Linked DNA regions of Homo sapiens: region 1 is linked to region 2. Evidence: promoter capture Hi-C in human tissues and cell types (Jung and others, 2019). All regions are on one chromosome and are shown on one strand. The core of a region is centred on a gene start or on the middle of the fragment in contact, and the rest is flanking DNA. Distances in the headings are between cores, read along the strand shown. Region 1 overlaps CAMKMT (calmodulin-lysine N-methyltransferase). Region 2 holds the start of SIX3 (SIX homeobox 3).

What was found. The method cuts DNA at HindIII sites, captures the fragments that hold promoters and counts their contacts. A contact is called where the count stands out against the background at its distance.
Region 1: a fragment that was not itself captured here is called in contact with the fragment with the promoter of SIX3 in region 2 in 1 of the 25 tissues and cell types used here (H1 embryonic stem cells).

What each region holds. Positions count from the first base shown.
Region 1 is chr2:44,542,519-44,547,773 of GRCh38, forward strand. The region is part of intron 3 of CAMKMT (calmodulin-lysine N-methyltransferase); the gene reads left to right. Among named protein-coding and RNA genes, the nearest start is that of CAMKMT, 180 kb to the left of the region's middle. RefSeq lists an enhancer at 1,538-2,316. The HindIII fragment of the contact is 4,043 bases long and covers 1-3,563 here.
Region 2 is chr2:44,938,225-44,943,454 of GRCh38, forward strand. It overlaps SIX3 (SIX homeobox 3), which reads left to right and starts at 3,478. Exons shown (of 2, transcript NM_005413.4): 1 at 3,478-4,686. The coding sequence starts at 3,881. SIX3-AS1 (SIX3 antisense RNA 1) reads right to left here and starts at 3,654. Exons shown (of 2, transcript NR_103786.1): 1 at 3,486-3,654; 2 at 1,930-2,609. LINC01833 (long intergenic non-protein coding RNA 1833) reads right to left here and starts at 975. Exons shown (of 2, transcript NR_147195.1): 1 at 599-975. RefSeq lists a silencer at 671-800 and enhancers at 1,142-1,643, 1,644-2,143, 2,912-3,438, 4,521-5,230. The HindIII fragment of the contact is 28,963 bases long and covers 1-5,230 here.

The DNA of each region.
Region 1 (5,255 bases), core at 292-2,791, 400 kb before region 2:
ACACACACACACACACACACTCTCTCTCTCTCTCTCTCTTTCTCTCTCCATATATGTATATATTTCTATACATGTGTAAAGAAACTTGGCTGGCAATTCAAGGCATTATATAGAAAGATCTAAATGAGTTAGTTGCAAGATAAGAAGAGGTCAGAGAAAGAAGGAAGAGGGAGAGGGGAGGTTTCCTGGAAGAGGCAGAACCACTGTCAGGCCTAGAAGCAGGGACAGTATTCCGAGAAACTGGGGTCTCAGGATAGCAGTTATGGGGTACTTAAGACAGAGACCAGATAAAAGATCATCCCAGAATGGCTTCATCTGGTGAGCTGTGTGTGGGAGATAAAACTGGAAACCTAGACTAATTTAGGTCAGATGGCGGGAGATCCTGGGTGTCAGGTTAGAGAGCTTAGACTTTACTTCCCTTCATCCTCCATTCCTCACTATTATTAAGCTTTTAACAGTTATACTTACTTATTAAAATAGAGAACCGAGTTTAAGTATCATATAGCTTCTTAGATGCAAATTATCGTTTACTAGTATCTTTAACTAGGGGAATAAAGTAGGAATAACCTGGAAATTATGTTCATTTATATGTGATTTTCCTGCTTTTTAAATTAATGCTTTGAAGCAACTGGGGCACACTTTCTCCCAATTAAAGAGAAATCTCATTACTTACTGAAGACCTTAAGAGAAAAGCTGAGAATCTACAGAAGTGCCTTCTTTTAGTGTAAATAGTGGCTCATTTAGTGCCTTTTAGAGCCTCTATTTCTTCCAGTATGATTTCTGCCGTGTAAGTGTAGCCACCAGCACAAATGAAAAGGATGCAAAGACATTTCCCTGTATTAAAGCAATGAATTAATAAAGAGAGCTCTGTTCTGGATTAGTTATGCTTTTAATTTTAATATAAAATAGTCTCTTTAGAATCAAATGCCCTGTGGGACCTATATCTAGAAGGAGGAAGAATGAGCCCCCAGGATTAAGGCTACAAAGAACTGACTGTGGTGCTGAATGTAAACATCAGCTGAGATTAACTATGCTAGTATTTTTATTAGTATTGTTATTATTTTTCTTTATGTGCCGGGTAGAGTTTTGAGTGGTCCAACCCAACCCTATTTTTCTTATAAGCCATATTATTATTTTTTGGTGCATAATTTTTGAGAATGCAAGGATTTTCAGGAAAGCTAGGTGGTTGGTTTTACAAGATAGAAAATTAGAAAATACCAAATTTTTACACAACATAGTTGATGTAATGTAGTAATCATGTATTTTATTTCTCTGGAAATTGTATCCTCACTTATGAAAGCCAGAATACTATTTTAGTAGCATTTATCTATTTAACTTTCATTGTCTGTTGACAGATGTATTTAGAAAATCAAAGTTAATGTAGGATAACCTGGTCGAGTTAGCATTTATTTTAGTTTCTGTTCAGAAGGTAGCAAATATTGGTTTAACCAAAGCTCAGGGGCTAAGATAGGTCAAATGAAGTTTATGAGATTCCATACACTTTCTGGACAAAAATCTACTATACTACTCTTGGAAAAATAATTTGAAAAAGACGTTTTTGAGTAGGCTTAATGTTCTTAATTTAGTGCTCCCCAAAAGAGGAGTATGAGAAAAACATTTAAATTTTGGTATTATGTTAAATACATCCCATGTTTATACCTAAAATAGTCAATGAAATTCTTTTCCTGTGTCAATGATTATTTCAGTGATTACCTGGACATTTGGGAAAGTTAGCAATTAATGCCAAGGGTTATTTATTTTGTCACTGGTTCAGAAATGCCTGTTTATACAAATCAAGACTTCCAGCAGCTTGAGCCTTCTTTTTCTTTTTGAGCTGGTAGAGTCAATGGTTAAAGGACAAAAATTCTACAATTGATTGAGTTACAAATGAATACAGTGTTAATTAAGCCAGGCCATTGTCTTTAAAGTGGAGTCAGTACATTGGAAGTCAGATTTCTCTTGCTGTTTAGTCAAACTGCCTAAGGCTGCAACTGCTTCCTTATTAGGTTACTAGCTTTGGGGAGATGTCATTGTTTGCTGCTGTAGCTAGGCTTTCTGTTAAAAATCACAGCATGAGGCTTAAACTGCTGCAACCATTATCCAGTGCTAACATGTCACTAAAGGTCTGCTAATAGAACAAGAGGAAAAATATCAATCTTTAATTTTAGATCAGCCAAGTAATCTGTAGCACCTGTTCATTTTCTCTCATCAACCCATTTAAAACAAGACTAGAGTGATTCTTTGATGGGCAGGCTATAAGATTCTAATATTTTTTGCCTTTTCTTATCAGAGGAAAATTTAGACTTTAAGACTAAAGAATAGAAAAAATAAACTGTAAGTACATTTCCTTTAAAAATTTTATTTAAGAGGTAGAATTATCTGATGTAATCCAATGATGACTAGGTTATTATAAATAATTTTTTAAAGAATAATTTTGTTTAATTTTCTGAAATTTACTTTTTAGATAAAAGCTAATCAATGAGGACATAATACACTGGTCCAAACAGCAAATTTTCCATAGAGAGCAGAAACTCTTTCAAGCTTTAGATGACAACCAACTTACATTTACCTATTCAGATATAATAAACAGAATTAGAACTTAGCAGCTGCTAGCTTTCCCTTACATAGACCTCAAGGCTCTGTCACGGTATGGGGCAAAATTAAAGAAAACATTGTGTCCTGCTCTTAGGAGAGGTGAAAGGATTGCTTCTGCAAACCACCATTAGCAATGCGAGTTCCAAAACATTCCCAGTGATGCTAGACCAAGTACTACACTTAGCAAATAAACATATAATAAGAGAAACATAAAACTTAGTAAACCTTTACAGTCCCCAAGTATATCCATCTTTTATTTAAATTAAAAAATCAGTTACTACTCTGAGCCTGTCTCTTTACTAGGCATTGAGAACATCAAAATGAGTCATAATACATGTACCCTGCTCTTCCTCGTGGAACTTATGGTCTATTATTGATCCTCTGTATAAAACCTTTCTCAGAGCTAGTACACATGCAGTTTTTGTTTTGTTTTGTTTTGTTTTTGTTTTTGTTTTTTTTGCTGGTGAGGAAGTTGAGATACAGGGAGGTTGTGACTTGTCTATGGTCACAAGATAAGTGGCAGAGTAAGGATTAGAAGAATCCGGTGTTCTAACTTCTAGACTCGGTCTTTTTTTTTTTTTTTTTAACTATATCAAGATGAAGATACCGGAGGGGAGAAGGGGATTATGAAGGCACAGTTTTAATGGACACCTTGTAGAATAATACAAGAGTGGAGTGACAGTATGGGAGCCTTTGATTAAAAAATTAATTCTAATGATGAAAATCTAGAAGCCAGATATAATTTAAGTATCTTCAAAAGGAGGGATCATCAACTCATTTAAAACAAGTCTACAGTGATCCTTTGATGAACAAGCTATAAGATTCTAATATTTTTTGCCTTCTCTTATCAGAGGAAAATTTAGACTTTAAGTAAGACTAAAGAATAGAAAAAATAAACTGTAAGTAAATTTCTCTTAAAAATTTTATGTAAGAGGTAAGATTAGCAAATTGCATCTTTTATATAGAGAGTTATCTTTTGTCTATAACATTCATCAGTATCTGATCATATTCTTTTGGATCTGGCTATCTTAGACTGCTAGGACACACACACACACACACACACACACACACACACACACACACACACACATACATGCACATACCCCTATACCTATGACCAATTTCACATCTAAGTTCTGACATTTAGCCCTAAAATCTCCTTCTTAGCCCAAAGCCGCTGTTGGCCTTGTCCTGGAAATTCCAACTTTTAGCATTTTCTTCAGTGGTCACTTGTGTGATGCATCTCTCCTGAGGTCTACATCAGAGCAGGCTCAGCCTCATTCTGCCACGACCATTTCCATCATCACAAGTACTTGATCTGTTTCACGTTTTATGGAATCGATAAATCTCATCCCTAAAGAGTCCAGCAGGCCTTTGATTCCTGACCTGACATTTGCTAATGCTATTCCTGATGACCTGCCACTACGGATCTGCAGCACTGCACTCTTGTGTTTGACAACACTCATAATATGAATCAATATTCAGCATTCAGTAAGTGAGCTGGGGAGTCATTTCACTGCTGCAAAAGGCTGCGTTGCCCCTGGGCAGCTGTCAGAAATGGGTAGTTATTAATAGCCCTCTCTTTTCACTTAGCATAGTCAGTAGGGGTCAGGCATGAAATGATTTAATCAGTTTATGATATCTGTGACAGAGAGCACTTAAAATGTAATCACAAAATTTAGGTAGAAGTGTCCCTGGGCTGTTGTAATGTTTTTCTCACTTAATTTTCCCTAATGCTGATACAGTGTAGTGCACACTGAGAGACTGACCATACAACAAAATGACATATGAGTTGGTGTTGGTTTCATTTCTCTCTCAGTAAAGTTGCCTTTTTAGTGGGGGTTTTTACTTCACAACATAGACCACAAATCCTAAGGGTAAGTGAGTATAAATCCCTTGGGTTGGCTTGCTTGGCTCTGCAAAATGTGTCCAAAATGTGTTGAGGGGTCCTGAGGGTGGGGAAGAACTTGATTGAGCAGAAAAATATCAAGCTTAGGTTTTTTGTTATTGTTATTTTCTGTATCCTCAAAGAAAATGTTAATGTGCTAGGATTCAGAGGACATTTTCCAGGTACACAAACCTAGTTGAACAATATCAGTAGTCTTATTGGGTCCTCTAGCAGTCACTTGGAAATAAGCTCAGCAGAAGTAAAAGTAAAAACTGTTCTATGCTGATAGTTGGAAAGACAGTACCTCAGCAGGGATTGGTCAAGCTGGGAATTCAGGGTTCAAGTAAGAAGAGTGGCTCTAAAAAATGTTAGATGATGCTGACGTGGTGGTGCATGCCTGTGGGGCTACTCCGAAGGCCGAGGCAGGAGGATCACCTGAGACCGGGAACTTGAGGCTGTAGTGCACCATGATCATGTCTGTGAATAGTCACTGCACTCCAGCCTGGGCAACATAGTAAGACCTCATCTCTAAAAAACAAGAAAGATATGATAGGTGAAAGATGACCCTAAACTTAAAAGGCAGTGAAAAAAATCATCACAGGTGTAAAAGTTAGCAATGCATGGAACAAGATTAGTACAATGTTTAGGTCTTGGGGTCTGGAATACCCAGGTTCAAATGCCATCTCTGTACTATCATTTCCTCATTTGAAATAATACCCATTTCATAGGGTTACTATGAGAATTAAATACGAGCTTATGTAATATATCTGAC
Region 2 (5,230 bases), core at 2,228-4,727:
AACACTATTTAAACCCCAAAGACATCTTTTCTCCCTGCCCCACCTGAAGGCGATATTTTAGATCGCCGGGGCCAGGATTGAAGCGGGGATGATGGCAGCAAATTTGTTCTGCACAGGTGACCCGGCCTGTACGGGCGCCAAGTCCCAGATCCCGCAATCAGAGCGGCCAGAGAGCAGAGAAGAGACCTAGAGGATCTGCAAGCTGACCTATCCACCCGAGACTCTCCGCTCTGAGCGACCCCAGGGTGCAGGCGCCCTCCACGCGCCACCTCCTCTAGCGGTCCCCCAGGGTCCCTTCCCAGTCCTCGCACTGCCCTAGGGCTTGCTTGGTTCCCAGACCAGCGTGGAAGGCCGCTGGGCCCCGGAACCCAAGGTCCCTCTGCTTCTGCTCCACTCCCCAGTGCCCAGCGCCTGGGAATTTGGGAGGGGAAGCTCTGGCGCTCCACAGCCCTGCTTCCCACCCAAACACGCACTCAGAACCCCTCGACTGAGATCCTATGGAGCCTGCGCCCCCAGCCCGGCGGGGAGCCAGTCCGGCCCTCCGCTCTGGGACCAGCCGCCCCGCCTCCCTGCCCTGCTCTCCGGACTCTCAACTTACCCGCTCCAGGAGGCGGGAGTACTGCTTCAGGCCAGAGCCGAAAGGCGCTGGCGGCGGCTGGACCGCGAGGTGGGCTCGGTGGGCGGCGCCGAGCTCGGCTCTGCTGGGAGGCGCGGACAGCCCGGGGCTGCCACCTGCCCCACCGGGTCCTGGCGCACAAAGCTACACGCCTCTCTGCAGCCCTCTGCCCTGCTTCGCGTTCCGGAACCGCGGTCGCCACCCAAGCAGGCGGGGTGCGGCAGGGCGGCAGGGCGGCAGGCGCTGGGGCAGAGGCTGGGGGGCGGGGGTGTCGCCAGAGTCTCAGCCCCACTTGCCTCAGTTCTCCCTGAGTGGCGATGGTTTTTTATTTCAGCGCTTTCGGCAGAGCCCGCAGCACCTGCCCAGCCTCCCTCCGGGGCTGGCCGGGCAGTGGCAGGGAGAGGCCAGGTCGCCACCACCCGGAGGCGGGGGTTTCGGGGACGGGGAGGGGACTGACCGGGTTCACCCGCCCGCCCGGCGCCTGGGTCCCCGGCTCCGGGGGATGCAGTTTCGGGGTCACGAGCTGCTTTCAAAAAGTTGAACACAATATTCGGAAACCCACCCGTAGGAATTCTCCCCCCACACGCGGCACAATACCCACTCCCCTCCCCTTTTTCATTCCTTCCTCCCCCGCTTCCTCCTCCTGCCCCTTCCCCCTCCCACCCTTCAGCCTATAATCCTTCCCCTACGAGAGAAAGGGATCGGGAAGAAAACATGAAGTGTCTGTTTTTGTGTCCCAACCTTTGGGCTCTTTCTGGGCCCTCAGTGAATGACCGCCCAGAGCTTTCAGCTGCGTGGAGAAGGACTCATGGCCAGGAGGAGAGGAAATATATATGGAGTGGAGAGAGCACTGAAATGGGGCTTGGCAGGTCTTCCCTTTGGAGGAATATTTTTCTGCCCCAGTCGTCGTGTTGAAGACCTGCTACCCCACGGCTGTCTCTGGCTAAGTGAGCCAGTATTGGCCCCTCGCCGGACCCAGGGCCTCCCTGCCGCCCGGAATCCTCCAAGGAGGCTTGCACTTGTCGGCTTGCTCTTCTCCCCGGCCCTCAGAGGCCTGGCACTGCGGGAGTCAAGGCCTAAGCAGGGCTCCAGCTCGGGGTTTAGGGGCTGGGACACTCACAGCCCCAGTCACGTTAGGTTTCCCATTTAAATTCTCTCTCAACCTCTCTTTCTCTCTTCCCTCATTGAGATCACCAAAGTGGTGTGGACACGGCGCCTTGCCCCCAGATCTGCATCGGAATGCAGAAAAGATCTTTAAAAAAAAAAAAAAAAAGTTTTGAATTCCTCAATGATTTTTCTTCTGGAAAGGCAGCTTAGGATAATTATTTCAGCTTTATTGAGGGCAGATTAGTTGAAGTCTGGGCGCTGCGTTTCAATACGCGTTGTACACGGGCCGACAATGTGGTCATTGTTGGCTACTGTGTGTGAATCCATTCAACATATACACTTTTTAACACCAAACCGAGTCCTGTCTAAATATACACAGTGCTCAGGGAAAGACGTCTCTGACCCCGACAAATCTGCGTAAATCACACTTCCATAGTTACAGAAGCCTCACAAAGGGAGGCCCGGCTCAAGATGCTGATTACAGCTTCTTAAAAGCAACATACCTAAGAATAAATACCCATGCCTGGCCTAGGGGCTGTGGTGGCCAGAGGCAGAGAGGGCCCTCTGTGTTCTATGGGCCTTTTGGCGTCTGTTTTAGGCTTTCGATGTTACTTTCCCTAGAGAAATTAGACAGTTTAAAAATAATAATGGTAATTATTATTATTTTACAATACGAGCAAACAAGCAATTTTCAGGCCTTATTCACTTCATCCGGGTGGCTGGCCTCCAAAGTTTGAGTGCCCTCTGGGGCTGGCAGGCAGGACCAGAGCTCCTTCTGTTGTGTGGTGAGGAGTGGGCATCTGTAGGACTTTTCTGGGTCCAGAGGGCTCTTGGGCTTCTCGGCTCCCGCAGCTCCTCCACCACTCCTCAGAGAGGCAGCTGAATTCTGGGAAGAAACAAAGAGTTGAGTTGCTTCTTAAGATGGAAAGAAGTGTACTGTTTGGACTGTTATTTTAAAATACAGGGTGGTGGGGGAAATCGAGGCTCCTTGGCCGGGGAGGGAGTAAAGAGAAGCCTAATTGATGAAGAGGGAGTTGAGGTGAATGCGGTCCATGGGCACCGATGGGGGAGGCAAGAGCGGCCTCCAGCACCCTGGGAATTGGGCTCAGGCTCCCTGGCGCCAGATACCCTCGGAATCCGGGATCCCCGGCTGGCGCCACGGCCCGCTGGGCCAAGGTCGGTGCTTGGTGGGCCCCATGATCTCATCTCTCCTTTCTTCCTTGCCACTATTAGTGCTCACATAGGCAGAAAGAGGCGGCCCGACGTGCAAACCATGTGCAAACCGCGCCCGCTGGGCTGGTCAGCCGTCTTTCCTTGCCTGCCGACCTGGACTATGTGGAGCCTGGGGGACCCTCTTGCCTCCCAACAAAATCCCCTCTCTAATTGCACATCCCATTCAACAACTCTGCCCAGGGCTTTTCGAATTTCTGGATCAACTTCTTTAGGAAAAAGGGAAGAAGAAGTCTCAGAGACAGCGGTAGAGAAAAGAGGAGAGAGAGGGAGAAGAGAGAAGAGAGGAGGGGGAGGTAGCGAGATTAAGAGTTGCAAAGATAAAAAAAATTCTCTTTATCCCCCCACTTCTCCCTCCTTCCCTGCTCTCCCCCTCCCCCCGCCCTCTGGCTAAGTGGTAAAACCGTCCTTACGTTCTCGGTATTGATTGGCAGGGCTGACAGTGATTGGCAGTGGTTGCCGTGGCAACGCCACAACGACACGCCACAGACCAATAGAAAAGCGAAACAAAATGTTTCAATGCTGCACTCACTGTGGATTTAGGGGAGATATTATGAGGCTGTTGTCATTAGGGCGATTGCGGTGGAATCGCTGAATCTTGACTCGGCGGTGGTTGGCTCTCCCTCTCCTCTCTCCCTCTCCCTCTCCCTCTCTGTCTCGGGTTCTCTCTCTGCGCGCGCGCACCGGGCCGCTCTCCTACCTCCCTCTCTATGTGGCTGCGCGGGTGTGTGTGTGTGTGGATGTGTGTGGGGTGTGGGTGTCCCTTACGCCCTTCCTCCTCTCCCTCCTCCTCCTGCTCCCCCCTCCTTTCCTTCTCCTCCTCCCCCCTCTCCTCTCCCTCCTCCTGGTCCTCATCGCCCCTCTCCTCCTCTTCCTCCCCTCTCTCTTCCTCTCCCTGAATTTTCTCCTCTCCTCTCAGGTCAGTCCATGGTATTCCGCTCCCCCCTAGACCTCTATTCCTCCCACTTCTTGTTGCCAAACTTCGCCGATTCTCACCACCGCTCCATACTTCTGGCGAGTAGCGGCGGCGGGAACGGTGCGGGAGGCGGCGGCGGCGCGGGAGGCGGCAGCGGCGGCGGGAACGGTGCGGGAGGCGGCGGTGCTGGCGGAGCAGGCGGCGGCGGCGGCGGCGGCTCCAGGGCCCCCCCGGAAGAGTTGTCCATGTTCCAGCTGCCCACCCTCAACTTCTCGCCGGAGCAGGTGGCCAGCGTCTGTGAGACGCTGGAGGAGACGGGCGACATCGAGCGGCTGGGCCGCTTCCTCTGGTCGCTGCCCGTGGCCCCCGGGGCGTGCGAGGCCATCAACAAACACGAGTCGATCCTGCGCGCGCGCGCCGTGGTCGCCTTCCACACGGGCAACTTCCGCGACCTCTACCACATCCTTGAGAACCACAAGTTCACCAAGGAGTCTCACGGCAAGCTGCAGGCCATGTGGCTCGAGGCGCACTACCAGGAGGCCGAGAAGCTGCGCGGCCGCCCACTCGGCCCGGTGGACAAGTACCGCGTGCGCAAGAAGTTCCCGCTGCCACGCACCATCTGGGACGGCGAGCAGAAGACGCATTGCTTCAAGGAGCGGACTCGGAGCCTGTTGCGGGAGTGGTACCTACAGGACCCCTACCCCAACCCCAGCAAGAAACGCGAACTGGCGCAGGCCACCGGCCTCACTCCCACACAAGTAGGCAACTGGTTTAAGAACCGGCGGCAGCGCGACCGCGCCGCGGCGGCCAAGAACAGGTTAGTGGCGGGGCCCGCGGCCTGGCTACAGCCTCAGAGGCCTGGGAAGGGGAGAGGGGTTGAGATGGGGCTAGCGGAGCGGCCGCTGAGAGCCAGGGAAGCCGTGACTCCTGGCCAGTCGGAGAAAGTTTCCGCTTGTCCGGGACGCGCGGAAGAGGGGGCCGGGCTGGCTGTGGGTGTATTGATTGCTTTGACCAAGAGGGGCTTTCGTCAGGGCAGAGAGTGTGTGCTTGCGACCCGAGTACCCGCAGCCCCTGGGAGACTTAGCCCTGCGCTGCACCCGTGCCTGCCTCCTCAGCCCTGCCGCCAGCTCGGCGATCCTCTGGAGCCTAGAGACAGGGAGGGAAGGAAAGCACTCTTTGCCATCTGGTTCTTATTTCTGTGCGTTGCAAAACCCCGAGAGAAATCCACTAGCGTCAGAGAGAGGAAAGTGAACCTGGGTCCCTATCACAAGGGGAAAAGGCCAGAGGCCACTGCGCAGCGGGCCTGTTTCCCCGCAACGCTGCACGTTGCCTGACCGGGAGCAGGAGAGCCGGGCTGGGAG